Regions from separate parts of the Homo sapiens genome. Here all the other regions are linked to region 3. Evidence: promoter capture Hi-C in human tissues and cell types (Jung and others, 2019). All regions are on one chromosome and are shown on one strand. Each heading gives the region's core, a stretch centred on a gene start or on the middle of the fragment in contact. The rest is flanking DNA. Distances are from core to core; before and after follow the strand shown. Region 1 has its middle 14 kb from the start of ACVR1C. Region 2 overlaps ACVR1 (activin A receptor type 1). Region 3 holds the start of ERMN (ermin).

Evidence for each region. The method cuts DNA at HindIII sites, captures the fragments that hold promoters and counts their contacts. A contact is called where the count stands out against the background at its distance.
Region 1: a fragment that was not itself captured here is called in contact with the fragment with the promoter of ERMN in region 3 in 1 of the 25 tissues and cell types used here (lymphoblastoid cells).
Region 2: a fragment that was not itself captured here is called in contact with the fragment with the promoter of ERMN in region 3 in 1 of the 25 tissues and cell types used here (spleen).

Annotation. Positions count from the first base shown.
Region 1 is chr2:157,640,975-157,644,057 of GRCh38, forward strand. No RefSeq gene overlaps it. Among named protein-coding and RNA genes, the nearest start is that of ACVR1C, 14 kb to the left of the region's middle. The HindIII fragment of the contact is 4,510 bases long and covers 1-3,083 here.
Region 2 is chr2:157,787,755-157,790,796 of GRCh38, forward strand. The region is part of intron 3 of ACVR1 (activin A receptor type 1); the gene reads right to left. Among named protein-coding and RNA genes, the nearest start is that of ACVR1, 87 kb to the right of the region's middle. The HindIII fragment of the contact is 5,724 bases long and covers 1-3,042 here.
Region 3 is chr2:157,324,215-157,327,618 of GRCh38, forward strand. ERMN (ermin) reads right to left here and starts at 1,610. Exons shown (of 3, transcript NM_020711.3): 1 at 1,188-1,610; 2 at 456-548. The coding sequence starts at 1,428. RefSeq lists an enhancer at 1,494-2,043. The HindIII fragment of the contact is 5,881 bases long and covers 1-3,404 here.

The DNA of each region.
Region 1 (3,083 bases), core at 13-2,512, 320 kb after region 3:
AAGAATTTCAAGCAAGGAGATGATATAATTAGATGGAAATGTTAAAAATGTCACTCTAGCTTCTGTATGGAGAGTGGGCTGTGGCTAGGCAAGAGTGAAATCTAGGCCACTAGCTGGGAGGATTATGCAGTCATCTGGGAAAAGAAAAAAGATGTTAACAGAAACCAGTATAAGCAGGGGTGATGGAGAAAATAGAATTATGTTAAGGGAGGAGGAGGAGGTAGGAATCGAGTAGAATGATTCAAGGTATCCCCCAGGATTCTAATGTCTGCACTAGGTGGACAAAGATGCCATTCACTCAAGAGGGAACTCTGAGAAGGGTCAGGTTGGATGTGTACAAACTCCTTTTCCGACCTTAAGTTTGAAATGGCTGTAGATGCCAAGTAGAGCTAAGTCAGTAGGTAGCTATATAGATCTAGGGCTTAGAGGATTGGATGTGGCTGGAAGTAAAAATTTGAGAGTTCTCTTATACAGAAGGTAATTAAAGCCAAGCTTATGGGTAAGATTTTCTGGATACATGTTTTTAGACTAGACATTCAATGAAACTGTCTTGAAGTGCTCCCTGATTTTTCGTAGTCTTCTAGCAAAGCTCACAATTGGTTCAACCTGACTTAAAACATTACCAAGACTCTTGCTATGGCACCATGGTTTAGACTCTTAACCAATTACTTATGGTAACTGCGTAACACAATTTAAAATTCTTTCCTAAGAAAAATGTTGACTCTATGTGTAGATACCACTGTATTGGCCAACACCTGTGCCAGTGTGTTGATTTTTTCACTGAGATAGACTTCAATTTCATGTACTCAAGGGTACACAACTGAAAGGGAAGTCCGTCCCTTTAATGCTGGAGTTTAAAGCATATGACTTTCATTCTATTCACAACACAAAATAGCTACAATACAGCTATTTCCTAGAAAATCCAATCATGAAAGAAATAAATCTATTTTTCCTTGAGAAAAGTATTTGTCCGGGAGGAGGGAAGCAAGATACGTTCCTCTATTAGTTAAATAATCAGCAAGAAAAGTAGCGGTGATTGAAGATATTATTTTAGTCTGTTATATTGTCCTAACTGGGGATTGTTTCCTTGCGTCATTGAAGGTTAAGGTATTAAAGAACAAATTTCTGCAAATTTGAAAAGCTCTGCCTCTTTTGAAGCATGGCATGGTAGAAGAGAAAGATGGAGAAAAAGTTAAATTTTTAATTGTATTTCTGTTTGTTCCACAAAGCATTTGAGATGCTTTATAAGAATACATGGAATAAAATATAAGTATGTATATTCAGAAAAAGGAAAATACAAATTGGAGTAGATGGTTATGACTGAGGGGGAAGTGAAAATGCAACATGTAGGCCAAAGACTCCTACATAGGTACTAAAGTTGGATTGCAGATTTGAGTCTGAAATTTTGGCTTTTGAGTAAAGAGAAACACCATTGTATTCTTTATTATGCATAAGGATTTTTTTTCTCCTAAACACAATTTATTACTTGGAATTTTGTTTTGAAGACACTGAAAGATACGGTAAGAAACATACTCAAAAATGTTCCTGAAGTAAATACAGTAGTATATTTTGTATACCTTTTTCTGGAGAGTTTCTTAATTCCAGACTTAAACTTGATTCCATAACAACTTAATAATAGCAATTCTGTGAGGTGAGAGGAGTGGAAGGAAGAGACTCAGTGTGACCCAATGATGTGACTGTGTAAACGACTAACTTAATTCTGAGCTAAACCCCAGAAGAGCTAGATGACTGATTCTTTGCTGTTTTAAATGAGATCTTCTAAGGGAATCCGATGAAAGCTATGGACCCCCAAAAACACACTCATACACACATATAGAACATAGCATATAAATGCAGATGATTCACAAATCCCTTAAAGCCCAGGTTGAAACATGTGATGTCAAGTGTCTATAAAAAGTAATTTAGAAGTAGCATAAGGGAGTACTTGAGAGTATATGCTAGGCATCAAACAGATCTCAGTCTGATTTTGGGTTTTGCCACTTGCTAGCAGTAGAGCAAGCTACTTAACTTCTCTAAGCCTCAGTTTTCTCATCCTTAAAATGAGGGTCAATAATATTGTTTATCTCATAGGGTAGAAGTGAGGATTCAATGAGATAATGCATATGAAGGGCTTTGCATAATGTCTTTAACACAGTAAGGACTTAATAGTAGCTATTAGTTACTGTCAGCTTTATGAATTCATAATTAATTGAAGCTATTGTTACTGGCTATTAGTTATGCAGTTTCCATTTCCCTACATGACCAAGAACATTAGAGAAGGGGTGATCAATTCACAAAACACTGTGCATATATGTATATGTAAATATAAACTACTTCTCTAGGAAGAATATGTATAATCTCTTTCTGATTTTCAATGAGGCCCCATGATTAAAAAATGTAAAGACACAGTGAAAAGAGGCAAACATAAGTTGGCTCTGTTCTTCGTGAAGGTACTGACTCATAGCCACTGTTCCCCAGTCTCAATTTAGAGAGAACACTCATGTGCTCAGGGCACGCATATATCTTCTATGTGGTTCCCCTAAGAAATAATAGTGGCTTCACTGGCTGTTAATGGCCCTAAGCGTTTATTGTTCTGATTCCATTTCTGGACACTCTGTTGTTGATTTTAATGCTCCTTACTCACCCCTTATGTCCTTGGTTGAGTCAAAGATTTGTTAATATTAGAAATGATAGAAAATCTCCCAGGTAAGTTACTGAGCCATGCAAAATTACTTTAAAATCCCTCCAAAATTGCCAGTAGTCACCAATGCGTCCTCTGTTCTTGTCTGCTGTCTCTCCTTTCCTATTCCCTGAGTTATTTTTCCCCACACCTTTATTGACCTTATTTTGGCCTAACCCTGACTCCCCATTTTTGTCCTTTTTAAAGCTGGCATTTGCAATAAGAATATTCTTTTTTGTTGTAGTTCAGCAGACAACCAGAGTAAATCTTCAAATCTTTACTCTTCTTTACAGTGTTCATTGCATCATAAAGATTCTATTTGGTTTGTTATTGAACATACAGCATGGTTTCTTTTACTCTTTTCCCAATTCAGAACCATTTTGGACACTTGCGTGAGTCTCCC
Region 2 (3,042 bases), core at 531-3,030, 460 kb after region 3:
CCTGGGCTCTACACTGAGAATTTTGGTTTTACAGGAAACATTTAACAATGGGCTCTAGATGAGATAGAACAGTGGAGAAAAAGCCAGCAGGTGGCTTTTGTGCTTAGCTCTCCACTTCAATTTCTCTTCTTGCCTCCTACTCTACCTCTCTCTCTGGGATTCATGGACTGGGCCTCCTCCAAGGTTGCCAATCTTAGCTGTGGTTACCATCAGCGAGCCTCCACCACACCCCTACAGCCTTTCTGGAAGCTTTCAAACTACAGAGACAAACCCTTCAAAAGTTAAGCAGGGCTCCAATTTGTTTAACAAGTCTTGAAATGCAGCCTTTAGGCACTGTGACACCCACAGCTAAAGGTGAAAATGTCCTGACTTAGTTAAACTCCCCTTCCCTAGCTCCACAACCTATCCTGCCCCACAGAAAAGCACAGAGTGAACAAAGTAACTTCCAGACTACAGTAGTCCCCACTTATCCCCCCTTATGCACCGTTTCACTTTCCACTATTTCGGTTACCTACCATCAACCACAGTCCAAAAATATTAAGCAAAAAATTCCAGAAATGAACATTTCCTAAGTTCTAAGTTATATGCTGTTTGAGTAGCATGATGGAATCTCACGTTGTCCAGCTCCATCCTGCCCAGGACATGAATCATCCATTTGTCCAGCGTACCCACACTGTAGATGCTACCATCCTGCTAGTCACTGAGCAGATGTCTTGGTTACCAGATCCACTGCCATGGTATTGCAGGTGCGTTCAAGGAACCCTTCCTTTACTTAATAACTGCCCCAAAGCACAAGAGTGGTGATGCCAGCCTATTGTTATAATTGTTCTATTTTACTTTGCTATTGTTGTTAATCTCTTCCTGTGCCTAATTTATAAATTAAACTTTATCCTAGACATAGGAAAAGATGTAGTATAGATAAGGTTCAATACTATCTGTGGTTTCAGGCATCCACCGGGGGTCTTGGAATGTATTCCCCATGGATAAATAGGGGGTTACTGTATTTACTTTCCATCCTAGATGAAGCCAAAGCGATTTTAAAATAACAGTCAAAAGGGTAAAAACTTGGGGCAGAGTCCAAGCCTCTGATAATGCTACTTCCCTATCCTCCAATTTCCCCATTCATTTCCCAAGGCCCTACCAAGTCCAGAACTCCATGAAAGGTTAATGAAGAAAGGAATCCCATGTCTTCAACCCCAGGAAGATGTGCCTGTGCCTCTGTATCCCAGCCTTTATAACTTGATCTTTGCTTTACATATCTTCTTTCCCCTATCAGTCTAATTAATATAGTCCAAAACAATTCATTAATTCTCAGGTTTAACATATTGAACAAGATTGGCTTATCAGTCACAGAATAAAGATCTTACAGTCACAATGAGACAGTTAAATTTGAGTCATTTTGAGCTTGTCCTTTTTTACCCCTGGGCCCACAGAAAGGCTCCAGGTGCCTACACTCCAGGTAGAAACAGAAAGCATCTCATTTGAGTGCTGTGAAGCTGAACTGGCTTTTCAAACACACAATCCCTCCCCTTCAATCTGTGCCATGGCAAACCATTCCCAGTTTCCACAATAATCTTGGACTTTGGCAGAAGAAAGCCAGCTAAATCTGAGATGTGTCACGAGGCCACTGGCTGGGGAGCAAGAATATCTAAACACAAATCCAGGCGAGAGCAACAAACAAGAGTTTCCGCAGATTCCCTCTGGCTCCTGTAGCTGCAGATCACTGACAGCCTAAAGATAACCCAAGTATCTACAAAGGGTCACTTTTAAATAGTAGCTTTAATGCCACCAGTCATTTCAGAAGCATTTCCTTCCAGAGCCTGCTTCCATCCACACTGGCCACCAAGTCTGTCCAACAATGGCAAGCTTACTGAGGAGATTAAAGTCCAGAAGGAAATGGAAGAAATCCCAAAAGGGAACAGACAGCTCCTGACATGCTGGGATTCTATTCTGTGATTGTACTTGTGCCAATATTTGGACTACTGAGAAATAATAATCTAGCAAAGAGACACCTTGTAGAAATGACTAACAATCACTAGGGATTAAAGAGCAGGTATAAAATGAAACAAAATAGTTTAACTCCAAAACTTTCTAAAGCTGAGGCTGTATAAACCATGGATGGCTACCACTAGGAGACTTTTAGGAAAGCCTTTCTCTCAAAGAGAAAACTTACTTAGTTTACTGAACTGCTGTAAGGAGAACAATATGAAGTCTTCAGGCACATACTGTACATACGTAGCCAGTGTGGCCACCCACTAACCACAGAAGCACCAAATGGAACTGCTCAGAAGCCTGCTGCTTTTTTTTTCTTCCTTTTAAGTAGGGCCAAAGTTCCCAAGATCTTCCTCAGACCATTAAAATCTGCTCAGCACCTCACCTGTCTACTAAGTAAGTCCACATTGTCCTAAATGGCAGTCGGCCAGGGGCTGGTGTACAAGGGACAGGTGCTCAGTGGGCTTTTTTCAGTTGCTGTCAGCTCAGTCAGGAGCTGCACATGCTCAGTAGGCAGGCAAGTTTTGGTTCCGTTTCGAACTCTGGGCAGCCAAGAGACATACACCTTCACAGCTGCCAGGGCAACCAGCTGCCCAGTGCTCCTCCCAAGATGGGAGCAATGAAAACAGTGTAACCTGGCCAGCCAACATGCCAGTGAGCAAGCTGTACCTCTCATTTCACTGCCTGGGTTATTCTGAGCTGGGCTTATTGACACTCCATGGCAACACAGGAACAAAGGGCCAGCTAGAGGGATTTAAATGTCCTGCAAAAGTTGTTAGAAAAGTCAGCAGCTCTGGCTTCTGCTTTCATAATAAAACTAGCAATAGCATTATTATTAGATTATTGTTGTTTTGTCACTGTTAATATCATTTGTGAGCCACCTGTAACAGTTCTACGTTCGCACTAAGGCTTTGTTTTTGTTTTGTTTGCCACCATTTAGTTGCTACAGTTGGGATGCCTTTGAAAATGGAGTATGTGTGCCTGCCTGTCCCTAAACTGCAGGAGGATTAGTTTTTCCCATCCCTTTACTTCTCATCTTGCCACACTCTA
Region 3 (3,404 bases), core at 360-2,859:
TCTGCCGAGATTGCACCATTGCACTCCAGCCTGGGCAACAAGAGTGACACTCCGTCTCAAAAAAAAAAAAAAAAGCTGTATGTTAATTGTAGACTTTTAGGAAAGACCCGTTTTTGAAACATTTACCTTTCACAAGGTGCACACACAGATTTGGACACACCAAATCAAAAAGTAGGGTTGACTCAGTGGACTAACTTAAGAGATAGACATCACGTTGGTATGCCAATCAGCTATGCCATTCCATGCAGCCTCAGCCTTGAACAGTCTGGAATGCTTTATAAGGTGGAACCCACAGATAAGTTAAGACTCTCTTATCTGCCTACAGCAGCTTTGAAAATTTGAAGTCATTGCCTGGATTGCTTTGTCAACCCCACGCTCATGCAACATTTCATGGAAAGACTGTCATCCATACTCAGTCAAACAATTTCTGTGTACAAAACTGTAGTTCTTGTTACCTTCTCTGAATGTCATTTCATCAGCACTAGTTTCTTGGAGAGAAAGATCTGTGATAGCCTTATGAACAATAAAGAGTTTCTCTTCTGGGTTTTCTAGGAAAAAAATATAAAATCAGTATTTTAACATTTAAAATATTTATTGTTCAACAGTTAATAAGTTATCAATTTAAACTCTAGGTAGAAGTCTTTAATTTTAAATCTGATCATTAAAATTTACTATTTCACTCTTTGGATTCATTCTTTATCAATTCAATTTATTTACTTAATGATCACTTTATTGATTGTAATCTCTCCTTTAATATTTATATAAGATATATATATAAGATATAGAACCATAAATTCAGAGAACTTCAGTTATATTTAGAAGGAAATTTTAACATTTTGAATTCTCTTTGTTCAAATAATATGGGGCTGTCCATAATCATAATAAATACAGTAGTTAACATTTAGCCAATACTTACCCTAGACTTGTAGTTATTATTATTATTCCGCCTTCTTCTAGTGAAAAAAACTCAGGCTTCGGGAGACAGAAAGTTGTCTGGGGTCACAGCTGTCAAATAGACCAGCCTGGATTTCACCAGAGGCAGAGGTTTAGTCCTTATACTATGCGTAGTAGAATAAAGGGCTACATTTTTGGGGTGTCCAGCTCATTTCGATAATAGTTTATCAAAAAAATCCAGGGTAAATTTATAAGTCAAAACAAGAAAATTAAGGAGAAGGGAAACACTTTACCTTTTAGCATTTTGTCCTCCATGGATGAGTTGAGCAGCATGTTCCCTTGTAATTTTCTTCTTTCCTCCTGACTTCCTTTGGTGAGTGCACCTTCCAGACTGGGTTCTACCCTGTAGTGTGGCAGGGGGCTGTCCACATCAGTCAATTCCTCACTGATTTTAGTGATTGTTTGTTGACCGTTTTCAGGTGGTTTATCCCCATTACACTCAGCCTGGGTAAATGTAGCCGGAACATCTGTCATGATGTGCGGTTGAATCCGATCTGGAGAGAGAGCTTTAGGGAAACTGAGTGAGTAGATCCTTGATAAGATACCTGCTCTTGCCTTCAAGTCCTATAGTTCCAACTCCTACTCTAAGAGCACAAATTATTCACTTTAGTACATAATAACAAGGTTCTTTTCCTAAAAGTATCCAGACAGAGATTAGAGCAAAAGCAAGAGGATTTGTCAGATCTGCCAGGAGCCATGAGCAAGAATCCAGCCAATCACCACCTTCTTTGTTGCTTGCCAGTTCCCTGGCAGAGTTAAAGGCATCCTTTTGATTTACATAAACAAACAATCTGAAGCAATCAGGCTTTTGTGTTGGCATGTAGAGAGGGACTTTCAGCTTGTCAGTCCCCCTCTGGGAACAGAGATTTTTGTCCCTTTTCATAATGGCCCATTGTAATTTTCCCTGTAACAGGAGCCACAATTGTCCCACAGCTTTAATCCAGAGAGAATGACCACCTTGAGGCATATTAGTTCTGTGTAACCAGCTTAACATTTCCAAACAGATTTTGTTCAAGTAAAACCTCAGCTATTTTGTAAAGGACAATGGCATTGTTTCTTATTTATTAAAAAATAAAACAGCTTATGGAAAAAACCTATAAACAGGACAACTTTACTGTAAATGGTTCTGGCTGCAGATTTGATGGTGTGCTTCCAGCAGGCTGGAGAAGGGACCTATGAAATAAACAAATTCTACCAACTTGCTAATACCAAAAGTTTTATAATTTCAGAGTAATTTACTTAGTCTATAGCTTCTTATCCTCTAGTTTATGTCTGCTGAAGCCCAGCCGATCCTTTAAAACCCTAATAAAATTATCGCCATGAAGGTTTCTCCTCCCCCAATCAGAATTACAATCCTTTCTATTCCATACTGATATTACACAATGCTGGTAAAATGTAGAGGACCAATGCAATCTGCCCTTGGGAGAAACAGGTGATTATGTTAAATGACTGCTACTGACCACCCCTTCCTTTTTAAATCTTTTTCTTTTTTGGATTTCTCATAGTACAAAATGGTTCCAGAGCCTTTGCCCACACAGCTCCTTCTATGTGAAATGCCCTTCTCTTCCTCAAGCCCAAGCCCTGGGCTGACCAGCTTCCCTAAGTTCTGTTTTTAAGCTTAAATATCATCTCCTTAACTACACTATCTCTAACCGCCAGGATTAGGACAGGACTCTGTTACACATTGTCTTTGCCCTTCAGAGTATTCTTCATGGTTGTAACTAAATAAGCAACTGCACAATTATCTCTGTAATGTCTGTTTCACCAACTGCAAACTAAGTTTCATCTGGCGAGGGGCCAGTTTAACTTGCTTACATGTGTCCCCAGCACTTAGCATCTGGCTTGGAATAGTAGCACGCAATAAAAATAATTATATATATACACATATATACACAAATAATTATATATATACACATACATAACAAGAATTATATTATATATATAATATATACAATAAATTTTATCCCCAAGAGAATAAATTTCAGATCATTTTTAAAGAGAAGAAGAATAGGTGTTGAAGAGTTGTAGTAAGCATATCACCTTTAAAAGTGTGTCTAGGGCTGAGCCCATTCAGGTCTATATCAGGGACAACACCTCACTCTTGTATAATCCCCTCTCCCTTGTCCTTGGAAGACATCTCTAATAGATCCTAGATCTCCCTCCCGCGTCATCACCAGCTGTTCTCTAGTCAGCACTCTAATTCTATGTTTGTTTGATTGTTTAACTGTTTTAACAAACGCTCATATCACACTTATTATGTGCAAGCTACTGTCCTAATTGACTCATAAATAGTAATACACTTACTCTTCATAACAGTCTTCTGAGGTAGGTGCTGTTGTTATCTCCATTTTATAGACTAGAAAAATGAAGTGCAGAGAGATTAAGGAGTTCAGCTAGTAAGGTCACAGAGCCAGCAAGCCTACTGATGAGAGTTTGCAGCACAGATGAAG